Linked DNA regions of Homo sapiens: region 2 is linked to region 1. The links are contacts of gene promoters, found by promoter capture Hi-C in human tissues and cell types (Jung and others, 2019). All regions are on one chromosome and are shown on one strand. The core of a region is centred on a gene start or on the middle of the fragment in contact, and the rest is flanking DNA. Distances in the headings are between cores, read along the strand shown. Region 1 holds the start of HPGDS (hematopoietic prostaglandin D synthase). Region 2 has its middle 49 kb from the start of PDLIM5.

Region 1 (6,357 bases), core at 244-2,743:
TGATGTGTTACTCTGCTTTCCTCCAGCCAAAACAACTGGTCGTAAAAGATAAAATTGTAATACAAAATGAGAAAAGTGTTATTTTTTGTATACTTGATTTTTTTTTAACTGAAGCAGTCTCGTATTATATATAGGCAGCATTATGTAAGGAAAAATATTAAATGTGTCATCAGAAGGCCTAGATTTTAATCCTAGCTTGTCCCAACAAAAATTCGCAGGCAATTTACCTAATTTCCCTATGTCTCAGTTTCCTCATTTATAAAAATAGGGATTAAAAATCATTGAGGTGAGGATAAAAAGATTTTTTTGAAAATATAAGTTAAAGCTGTCAAAGATAATAAATGCATTGTGTTAATTTTGTATAGCTCCCACTCCCATCCCATTTGCACTTGATTTTGACACACATGTATCCTTTTTTGGTGGGTAAAGGGCTACACTTGCGTCTTCTCTTTTTACATACTAGTATTTACATTTATTTTCATTTCTGACGTTTATACTAAGTGGATGTAAACATATTTTTCAAAATTAAAAGCACTTTAGAAATAAGAAATATTAAATGATTGATATGTTGCTATTGTTGCCTGTGGGAGTAATTTTCTGGAAGTTGAAAGCCAGCTGGTCATTGAAATGTTTCATGGATAATCCTCAGGCTCAGTAAGGCCCAGGCAGGCATTTTATTGGATCTTTTCACTGAGCTGTCCTAATATTATAGATAAAAATAATTCCTGCACTAAGAAGTGAAACAATAAATTTCTAAAATGTCAGGCATTTGTTACTAAATTGTAAAAGGATCACAAACAAGATGAATTGGAAACTTCTACACCAGGTTTACTTTAAACACTTTGGCTTTTCTGAGAAATGAGAGTAAATGAAATAAACCAGCAACAATGCAAATTTACAGTCCTTGCAAAAACGTGAACTATAAATTAGGGTTATTCTATCATCAGATGTATATTAGTGGTCATGACATGCCTGGCACTCCTCTTAGAACTGAGGAGACAATAGTGAAAAAGACAGTGAAGTGCCTGCCTTTACAGAGCTTACATTCCACTGGGAGAAACCAAAAACAAACAAGTTAAATACACCACATTGTTAGACACTGCCTCGAAGGAACATACAGCAGGTACAGGAGAGACTGTTTCTAAAATAGAGAAGCAAGTCATGTGCACATCTGCAAAGATGATTTCATTACATTCAGGTTTTCTTATTCTCCAGGAGCCTATGGTGTAAAACTGAAAATAAGTGAACATGTAACAGTGGGCATACATATGCAGCTATAACTTTGACTTTACCTTGTATACAAATGTGTTGGTTTATTTATACCCAGATATCCTGTATAACCAGCAGTCTTCGCAGGCTTGAACTGCCTGGCATGCATGTTTTATCTAAGAAAAGAAGGAAGAGCGTTAGGTAGAAGGAAGTTGCCTGTCCTCTCACTGGCTCGTGATTATCACTTACTCGTCATATAAACCCAAGGCACAGTCACATACCCAGGGATACAAGACACTGCAGACTCCCGAGAGACATAACACAGGTAAGTCATATTACTGAACTCCACATAGGTAATAAATGAGATATGCTTTACTCTTTACTTCAGAGTTTTTATTATTCTCATATCCTGTTTGTGACTAACTGTCTTGTGAGCTATTTTCATGATGGTGCTCACTCTGACCTTGTCTTACCCAGAACCTCTCCATATATGCGAATATGTGAAACTCAAATAGTCATTTTTAAGGAAATATAGGTACAGGAGATTTAAGAAGATCTCTTCAAGTGGATTTTAACATAGAAAATATAATCAATGCTAGAGGAAAAATCCTGTCTTAATCAGGGTTTGTTACTACTTCCAGAATTTTCCCAAGTGATTCTTCAATAACTTGGATTGATGGAGTAGAGAATATTATCTCATGGCTGTTCAATTTCTTTCCTTTGCTTTAAAGTTTAAGACTTTTACTGGTAATATTTTATATTATTTTAAGGCACATTTTGTTGAAGCATCTCCATGTTTTGATAAGAATTGCAACCTATCATCTTTTGGCTTCAGAGATGGTTTAAGGGATTTACCCCAGGCCAGGAATTTCAACTCACAGCTCCCAAAGGATATTTCAGTTATTCCTCTTGCTTTGGCTTTAATGTGAAACAGTCACTTAAAATGACATTTAGTTGATATTTGATAAAAAAAAAAAAAATAGAGCTTTCAGCTTGCTAATTCAAAGTTAAACATCCAGTGCTTGATTGAAATCAATATCTTACTCAGTCAACAACAATTCTTCTATTTCTCTATTGTCCTATAATTTAACTCCAACCTGGCAACTTTTCCAGAATTGAACTTGAAATGCCCAGGGACACTGTGAAATGAGGGAAATTAACATTCTTTACCATCAAATGTTAGGGGTAATAAAAAGCTGTTTTAATGTCAGTATATGCAAGAAGTTCCCCTGTGAACAATAGTATCTCACATGATTGCTGTCTGAATCCAATTTTTACATTTCAGAACACCAGGGTCTATATAATAGGAGTGTAAACATGCTCTAGGCCATTACATTTTGTATAAGTTTATTACTGGGCAAGTTAAGATCTGCATCTTAAACTCAAAGAAGAGCTATAGCAAATTCACAAGTAATCTTTGTTTTTATATCTCTAACTCAGATTATTGCGCAATTACTAAGCATGTAAAAAACTGTGTCTGGAATGCCCAAATATGTTTGAATTCTTGATGTGTCGTATTTAAGAGTAAGAGCTTACGTTGGCTAACATTTTGTATTGAACTGTAGAATGGTCAATACTTAATTCCTCATTTGTAAGTTTTCTATCTAACAAAATTATTCCAAAAGTTCTCTTTTTTGAACTAAAAATATTTCGGCTGAAGTCTTTATTAAGATGTTTAGTATAGGCATTGGATATTGATTAGCCTGTGTTGTCAGAGAGTTGAAATTGGATTGTTGTCATCTTTCTGGCACAGAGACTAGAATTTTTGAGACTATTTTTTACTGTGCTTTTACAGCAGTATACGGAATAATATATTGTTAAATTGTTTTATTATAAAAGTTTGTAATTTTTTCAATGATTATGTTAAAATTGCCTCTGGGATTGAATTAATCAGATGAAATAAATCAGCATTGTATTAGTTAGTTTTCACGCTGCTGATTAAGACATACCTGAGACTGGGTAATTTATAAAGAAAAAAAAGTTTGGCCGGGCGAGGTGGCTCAGCCTGTAATCCCAACATTTTGGGAGGCCGAGGCTGGCGGATCACCTGAGGTTAGGAGGTCCTGGCCAACATGGCGAAACCACGTCTCTACTAAAAATACAAAAATTAGCTGGGCGCGGTGGTGGGCGTCTGTAATCCCAGCTACTGGGGAGGCTGAGGCAGGGAGAATCGCTTGAACCCGGGAGGCGGATGCTGCAGTGAGCCGAGATTGCGCCACTGCACTCCAGCCTGGGCGACAGAGCAAGACTCCGTCTCAAAAAAAAAAAAAGAAAGAAAAAAAAAAAGAAAAAAATTTGCCGGGCGTGGTGGTTGGTGCCTGTAATCCCAGCTACTCTGGTGGCTGCGGCAGGAGAATCGCTTGAACCCGGGAGGCAGAGGCTGCGGTGAGACGAGATCACGCCATTGCACTCCAGGCTGGGCGACAAGAGTAAAACTCCGTCTCAAAAAAAAAAAAAAAAAAAAAAAAAGGGAGGGGGGCGGGCCGGGCCCGGTGGCTCACCCCTGTAAACCCAGCACTTTGGGAGGCTGAGGCAGGCGGATCACGAGGTCAGGAGATCGAGACCACCCCGGCTAACACGGGGAAACCCCATCTCTATTAAATATACAAAAAAATTAGCTGGGCGTGGTGGCGCGTGCCTGTAGTCCCAGCTACTCGGGAAGCTGAGGCAGGAGAATGGCGTGAACCCGGGAGGTGGAGCTTGCAGTGAGTGGAGATCACGCCACTGCACTCCAGCCTGGGCGACAGAGAGAGACTCCGTCTCAAAAAAAAAAAAAAAAAAAAAAAAAAAAAAAAAAAAAAAAAAAAAGAGAAAGAAAGAAAGAAAGAAAGAAAGAAAGAAAGAAAGAAAGAAAGAAAGGTTTAGACCAGGCACAGTGGCTCACACCTGTAATCCCAGCACTTTGGGAGGCCCAGGCAGGCGGATCACAAGGTCAGATGATCGAGACCATCCTGGCCAACATGGTGAAACCCCATCTCCACTAAAAAATAAAATACAAAAATTAGCTGTATGTGGTGGCGCACACCTATAATCCTAGCTACTTGGGAGACTGAGGCAGGATAATCGCTTGAACCCAGGAGGCGGAGATTTCAGTGAGCCCAGATTGCGCCACTGCACTGCAGTTCCACATGGCTGGGGAGACCTCACCATCATAGCGGAAGAGGAAGGGATGTCTTACATGGCAGCAGGCAAGACAGAACCAGAGCCAAGTTAAAGGGGAAATCCCTTATAAAATGATCAGATCTCGTGAGACTTATTTACTACCATGAAGTCAGTATGGGGGAAACCGCCCCCATGATTCAATTATCTCCCACCGGGTCCCTCCCATGACAAGTGGGAATTATGGGAGCTACAATTCAAGATGAGATTCTGGTGGGGATATAGCCAAACCATAACAAGCATTCTATAAAGTAAAAAAAAGCTACAAGAAAGAAAGAGAAAGAAAGGAAGTACCCAAGATAGTACTTTAAAAACACTGTTATTTCCCATATAAAAGAGCTTATTTCCTAATGCATATATTAATATTAAAAGTTAAATCTTCTGCAGTGGATAGCTATGTTCATATGAGTTTATATGTCTAAGTTTTTATCCAGGGTATTTATTAGTCGTTTATGTGTTCTTTGATAAACCGTATAGGTTATTTTTCAAACAGAATTCTAAATGAGCTTTTTATCTATCTGCTGAATTAGTAACTTTACACGATATACTTTGGGGTGTAAGGAAGCCAGTGGTTAATTTTAGATGCAAAGATCTTTAGATGTAAATATCTTCAAACACAATCAGCTTTTAAACTTCAGGCTTCTGTATCATTTCAGGAAACATGCAGTTTTCTCTACATGAGATTCTTAACACAACGACAGTGGAAGGGTTCAGAAATGAAGCTAACAGGAAATAAGGGACCAGAATGATACTGCAGTTTTGCTATGCTAGTCAAATCATACCAAGATAACCTAGATGTTATTTCTGTGTTTGATAGAAAGTTGGGGTCTAATTATGCTTATTTTCCCTCTATTGTCTCAGAACCATTTTAGTCTAGTTTCAGTCTCAGAACCATTTAGTCCTCACTCTATGTCATGTCTGTCCTATATATGAGGTTCTGTTTTAAGACAATGCACCTCTGAGCAAATACCGCATTACAAGGCTTTTTATCTAAGTCTTGCTATCTGGTACATCAGGTCCTCCTCTCCTGTTCTCTTTTTTTCTTTGTCTTGGCTATTTTGGTCCTTAGCATTTCCATTTGAAATCTAGGATCCAGTTTATCTGTAGAATCTCTCGAAGTTTAAATATAGACAATCATTTTGGACACAGCAAATGGATGCTGTGTCGCTCCCTTCCTACTACTTAACAAATGTTATTTATTGTTGTCTTACATTATTGAATTAGCTAGGCTGTCCAGCATTATGCTGAATAGTAGATGTTATAGTGGGATTCTTGTTACTTCTGACATTAAAGAAAATGCTTTTATTGATTCACCATTATGTATTATATTTGCTATAAGTTTTTAGTAGAGACTCTTTATATGGTTAAGGAAGTATTCTTCTATTGCTAGTTTGATAAGAGGTATTTTATTTTGTTTTTTCATTTTGCTAAGAATTTTGATCACAAATGAGTGATAATGTTATAAATGCTTTTTAAAAGCATTTAGTATCTATTGAGATGATAGTATGTTTCATGATAATTCTGTTTCTTATTTTTGAGAGAGAGTGTCTCACTGTCGCCCAGGCTGGAGTGAAGTGTCGCGGTCTTGGCTCACTGCAACCTCTGCCTCCCAGGTTCAAGCAATTCTCGTGCCTTAGCCACCTGAGTAGCTGGAATTACAGGCTCACACCACCACATCCAGCTAATTTGTATATTTTTTTGTAGAGACGGGGTTTCACCATGTTGGCCAGGCTGGTCTCAAACTCCTGACCTCAAGTGATCTGCCCGCCTCGGCCTCCCAAAGTGCCGGGATTACAGACGTGAGCCACTGCACCCGGCCTGATTTTTCTCTTTTAATGTAGTTTATTATACAGATGGATGTTCTGATATAACATCTGGTATTCCTGAGACAAACAGAAAATATAATTATGCAAATAACTACAGAAATGTCATGTAAAAAGTACAGCTTCATTAATGAGTTACAACTGTTGAAAGAATATTTTAAAAGGA
Region 2 (6,389 bases), core at 3,713-6,212, 58 kb before region 1:
AAAAATGTCTGGATTCCCAGTCGATTTATATCTTACGACTTCAAATTCTTTGATCTCTAAGGGTGAAGTGTCTGCTAGGAACAGGAATAGAGGTTTTAGAATTGTTTCTATAACCAAGATCAGTAAATTCTCATCGTGTAAGTGAAAGAGCATCATTTGTACTAAATACCACATTCATTTGTGCATCCACATATGATAGGGCTGCGTAATGGCAGCAAGAGAATCCTAAAACAAGTCACTCTAAAAGATTTCAGAATATCCCTAAACATTTAAAAAATTTTGCCCATGTCTAGAGTGAGTCTTTAAAAAAAAAATATATATATATATACATATATATACTTAATTTTAAAATATTTTTAGAGCCTGGTCTGTGAAAAATATTTGAAGGTAAACTGACTTAGAATATGGTCTGACTTTGACCTCATAAAGTTTCTGAGGAAGTTAGTTGATTTTATAGGATAAATATGAACTGATTGTGTGATATTACAGGGAAAAAAATCCAATGTAGACATTGCCTGCATTAATATAAGTATGGTATTTAGATCAGTGCTGTACTCTACCCTGGTCAGACACATGTGAAATACTCTTCTCTATTATGGGCATCAGAGTTTAATGATATCGACAAACTACATAGTATTCAGCAGCAGGAAATGTGGGAAGCCATATGAAGAATACTTAAACTGGGGAAATTACTTCTAAAATACGAAAGATGTAGTGCTGTTTTAGCTCTTTTCAAATATATGAAAGACTGTGCTGTAAAGGGAAAGGGGATGTGGGAGGAAAGAGGTATTGAGTCTAAATCTATCGTTTTAAAGTTTCATTATTTTCTATGTGTAATTTGTCTTGAATTTGTTCCTTTCCATTCCTCTCATGTAATATGTTTCATGTATTTGTCCCAGTCCCCCTATTTTCAATGTTTGTACTTTAATTTGGATTATTGTATTAAATGTATATCTGGTTTTTACTGCTCATCCCTGCCCTCATCCAGCTTTAATTCTGATACTAAATGATTCATCCTAAAATATTCTTGATATCATGAAAGTATAATTTGAATTTACGTCTGACGTTAAAATGTCCTCATTCATAATTTATGCTGATTTTACTTATTTAGTCTTATTTTCTAGAATTCCCGGTGGGCTATCTACTATACTTAAGTTTGTTCCTTCACTATCCCACACCTGTCATGTTCTTTGTCATCTGTGCCTTTTCTCAGGTTGTATCCCTTAACTACTCACTTCTAAACCTCTGTCCAGAGATTCCTCTTAATGCATCAAATTCCTGTCTATTCTTGGAGAGCCATTACATGCCATTCTTTCCTTTAGGCCCTTCGTAAACTATTATAGCCATAATAATTTTGTCTCATAATTCCTATAGCCTATTTTGATTATACCATAATTTTTAATACTTGATTTTTTAGTAAGATGTGGCTACAAAATAATACCTATTCCATGACATTGCTCATCGATCTCATTCTAGTCAAATGTTATACTTTTAGAGTATTTTGTTGCACTAATGGCCACGATTTGTCCAAGCCTCCTTGTATCCATGACCTTGGATAGATCCTCCTATAATGACTCTGGACCCAGCCATTTGACGTAATTTGGCCAAAGAGACAATAATCAAATGTGATACCAAAAAACCTGAAAAGTGTTATGCACTGGGGCTTGCCTTGTCTTGCTTCTTGTGAGAACCCTAAGACACTTAAATGAAAAAGTTGATGAAAACATGTAGCCCAGCCATCTCTGTCTCCCAGTTCAGGGCCAATACTAACCAAGAGCCAGCACCAATTGCAAGACACATGAGTGTGGCTGTCCTAAGAACCACTAACCCCCAGCCAACCCAACCAGCAGATGCAGCTGAATGTCTGAGCCCAGGAAAGACCAGCAGAAGAACTGGCCAACTGACATTGCCAGCTGGCATTGCTAACTCACAGAATTGCTAGCCAGAAATATAAATGTTGTTTTTTTCTGTCTAGCAATTTAAAACTGAGGACAGTTTAAGAGTGGCTTATTTTGCTGCAAAATATAACTAATGTAAGGGTTATTTATTAGCCAGTTTTTACTGGGGTATTAGATTTGCTTCAGCTTCTATACTGTGTGTAATTTTAGGACAAGAACCATGACATCTTTTCTAAAATTTCAAGATTTTAGACAGTGCTAGGTTCATAACTGATATTTGATAAATAATAATTTTAATATTGTTTTCTTGGTACCATGAGGATGAGATTAACAATCTTTACACACAATATCACCTGAATTTTCTTTTCTTTTCTTTCTTTCTTTTTTTTTTTTTTTGAGACAGGGTCTCACTCTATTGCCCAGGCTGGAGTGCAGTGGCATGATCTCAGCTCACTGTAACCTCCGCCTCCCGGGCTCAAGCGATTCTGCCACCTCAGCCTCCTGAGTAGCTGGGACCACAGGCACACACTACAACACCTGGCTAGTTATTTTTATTTTTATCTGTAGAGATGGGGTTTCACTATGTTGCCCAGGCTGGTCTTAAACTCCTGAGCCTAAGTTATCTGCCCACTCCCAAAGTGCTGGGATTATAGGTGTGAGCCACTATGCCTGGCCATCACCTGCATTTTCTAATTTTAGGTAAGATAAATCTTTTTGAAGAGGTCAAAGGACATGAACAGATACTTTTCAAAAGAAAACATATAATGTGGCCAACAAGCATATGAAAAAAAGCTCAATATCACTGATCATTAGGGAATTGCAAATCAAAACCACAATGAAATACCATCTCACACCAGTCAGGATGGCTATTACTAAAAAGTCATAACAAAATAACAGATGCTGGCAAAGTTGCAGAGAAAAGGAGATGCTTATACACTATTGGCGAAAGTGTAGATTAGTTCAACCATTGTAGGAAGCAGCGTGGCAATTCCTCAAAGAGCTAAAAACAGAACTGCTGTTCAACCCAGCAATCTCATTACTGGGTATGTACCCAAAGGATATTAATTGTTCCACCAAAAAGATGCATGCACGGGTATGTTCATTGCAGCACTATTCACAATAGAAAAGACATGGTATCAACCTAAATGCCCATCAATGGCAGATTTGCTCATGAAAACGTGGTACATATACAGCACGGAATACTATGCAGCCATAAAAAAGAACAAGATCATGTCCTTTGTAGGAACATGGATGGAGCTGGAGGACATTATCTTTAGCAAACTAATGCAGGAACAGAAAACTAAATACCGCATGTTCTCACTTATAAGTGGTAGCTAAAAGTTGGGAACACATGGACACAAAGAGGGAAACAACAGATACTGAGGCCTACTTAAGGATGGAGGGTGGGAGGAGGGAGAGGAGCAGAAAAAATAATTATTGGGTACTCGACTTAGTACGTGATGAAATAATCTGTACAATAAACCCCCATGACATGAGTTTGACTATCTAACAAACATCTACATGTACCTCTGAACATAAAATATAAGTTTTAAAAAAGAAAAGCCAAAAACAACAAAAAAAGATAATTTATTTTTCTTTAAAAAGATATGGAATTCATGATATGCATATACTGGATTGGACCTCCAATTTTTAAGAAGTTTCCGTAAAGAACAATACTGAGGCAATTGGCAAGATCTGAATGTGGGATGCATATTAGATAATAGTAATTCATCAATGTCAAATTTCTTGAATTTTGTAATTATACCATGATGCCGTAAAAGAAAGATTCAACAAGATACCATACTAAATTTACTACTAAGTGCACATATATGTACATATACATACATATATATGGAGAGGGGAAAGAGAAAGAACAGTTACAATGAAATGCTAAGAATTTGGTGAATCTTAAGTAAAAGGTAAAAGATGAGTTGTACCATTCTTGTACCTTTTCAGCACATTTGGAATTTTTATTTAAAAGAAAAAGAAAAAAAAAGGTAAGAGCCACTACTCACCAATTTAAGCATTTCATTTATAAAAGATCTAGGTCACTGTTGTTCAAAATGAAAGGTCTATTGGACATCAAGAATGAGTTGCCAGTTACTCCATCAACTCCACTGTCATCATTCATTATCCGAAAGCATTTACTCTTCAGTCCACTGTGGAGTATTAGGGAGGAAAAAGCAAGGAAGTGTTCAGTGAGGGCTGTAGACTGAGTGGCCAGCAATGAATGTGGGAATCTTTAGGCTTATCAGATTTTCTAACACATGCAAAATTTATAAGTAGATTCTAAGAATAAATGATTTCCAATATTATTCTTAGAAATAATGTAGTGTTAGGCCACTTGCAGTGGCTCATGCCTGTAATCTCACCACTTTGGGAGGCCAAGGTGGGCAGATCACTTGAGTTCAGGAATCTGAGACCAGCTTGGGCAATATGGCAAAACCCCATCTCTGTGAAATATACAAAATTTAGCTGGGCGTTGTGGCGCGGTGCCTATGGGGCTGAGGTGGGAGGATCTTGTGGTGAGCTGAGATTGAGCCACTGCACTCCAGCCTGGATGACAGAATGAGACTCTGTCTCAAACAATAGTGTAGTATTGACCTACTCTTCTGCTCTAAAATGAGGTCTCACTGCAGTGGAGAGCTATCTACTTGGCAATTAGTAAGTGATAACAGATGAGGGAAATGGTGCTGCAATTTTTTTCCCCTGGGGTAGGAGAAGCAAAATTTAAACTTAAACCATTCAGTTATCTCCTTTGTTACCAGCACTTTTCTCTGCTGACTGAGCTTTGGGATCATCTGGAATATAGCGTAGTGACCCCACTTAAAACTTATCTGACATTCTCTGACTTCATTACCATTGTATTTGTGTACAAATAAGAAAACACCATTTTCTGGAAAAACTCTGGAATGCTACAGACTAATTTGAGATATTTACTATTTCAAGAGAAACATTTTCTTTTTTACAGGAACTTTATACAAGCTGTTAAAGATACTATTTTATTAAAACAGACAACGAAAACAAGCAAAACAATCTGAAATTAGGCAAATGCTCAGTTTCAAATGCCATAAGAAGATGAATGGTTATGTTAGGTGTTTTAGGAATTGATTTAAACATCTTTTTCAAAGTATTGATTTTAGTAGGAAGTACAGATTTAAAGGATGAATTAATTTTGTGTATATGATAGAGACTGGACTCAGAGATAGTAGTCTCTTTCCTAGATAGATATTCTTAAATATAAAAATTGAATTCAAAGTTAGAAATATTAAGCTTCACTGCAGTTGACACAATTTGAGGGGAAAAGGGATAAATATATAGCCCAGTAATAAAATTATTGGTTAAATAAAGGTCAGGGAGAGAAAATTCTAGTTAAAATGGTACTTTCTTTAAAAGTATGCTATGCTTTCAGTTGCTGATGCAAACTGTAGCCAGATAAGATAAAACCTTCCTGTTCGTTTTCTATCTACGCCTTGTGTTGAACGCAAAGGCAAACAAAAGGCTTTGAAAATGCTGTAATCATTACTCAACATCAGTTATCAAAATCATAATCAGAACACACTTGCATGAAAACTCTCTTAACATAGACAAGTCCAAAGTATGTAGCTCTAATAAGAATAAGCTATGATTAAGTATACAAAGAAAACTCTCTTAAGAAAAAAATAATGTTTCCCATTTTGATTTAAAAAATATTTACCCTGTAACTGGAACTGGGGTAGGGGAGGAAAATGTTTCTCTTGAAATGCTAAAAAATTTAATTTCTTATATGATTTTGCAGTTTTCCCCCTTGTATAAATAAGAGAATGAAATTGCAATGCTTGTTATTTTAATGTAGATCTTACTCCTTCCAGGGGCCCACACACTTAACTGTCCCTGGTTCAATTTTATTCCTTAGCACTTCATACAGTTGCTGGTTGGAAGTAATGAGGTAAGTCCTGGCTTCTTCCTATTTATAGAACTGAGGCGATGACCAGAAATGACAGATGGGGCTTATGTCAGTTAGCATTTAAATTCAGTTCTGAAGCTCCAGGCCAAGAATGAGGAGTGGGCTCTTTATTAACTTTCCTATTTACTTTGTTAATCAGTTTATATTAATCAACTATATATGTACTTAGAACTGGCAAAGGCAAATTATCTTCTCTTACTTACTAAATAAGAACTTCTAAATAATTGCAAACCTCAAAATAAGTGAAGTTTAGTATATTCTTGTGGTTATTCAGGGAACTTCCCTCCTACCCCCGATGCAGCCTCAATCATTAATGATTTAATTTTAACATTTTATAATTACATAAGAAGAAAGAGACTAGACATGGTGGTGCACACCTGTAATCCTAGCTACTTGAGAGGTTGAGATAGGGAGCACAGGAGTTTGAGGCTATAATGCCCTATGATCATACCTGTGAATAGCACTGCACTCCAGCCTGGGCAACGTAGCAAGACCCCATCTCTGAAATGTTGGGTTTTTTTAGTCTTAAAAATTAAAAAGAAAAG

The links. The method cuts DNA at HindIII sites, captures the fragments that hold promoters and counts their contacts. A contact is called where the count stands out against the background at its distance.
Region 2: a fragment that was not itself captured here is called in contact with the fragment with the promoter of HPGDS in region 1 in 1 of the 25 tissues and cell types used here (H1 embryonic stem cells).

The regions. Positions count from the first base shown.
Region 1 is chr4:94,337,972-94,344,328 of GRCh38, reverse strand. It overlaps HPGDS (hematopoietic prostaglandin D synthase), which reads left to right and starts at 1,493. Exons shown (of 6, transcript NM_014485.3): 1 at 1,493-1,534. The HindIII fragment of the contact is 13,227 bases long and covers 1-6,357 here.
Region 2 is chr4:94,399,378-94,405,766 of GRCh38, reverse strand. No RefSeq gene overlaps it. Among named protein-coding and RNA genes, the nearest start is that of PDLIM5, 49 kb to the left of the region's middle. The HindIII fragment of the contact is 7,601 bases long and covers 1,162-6,389 here.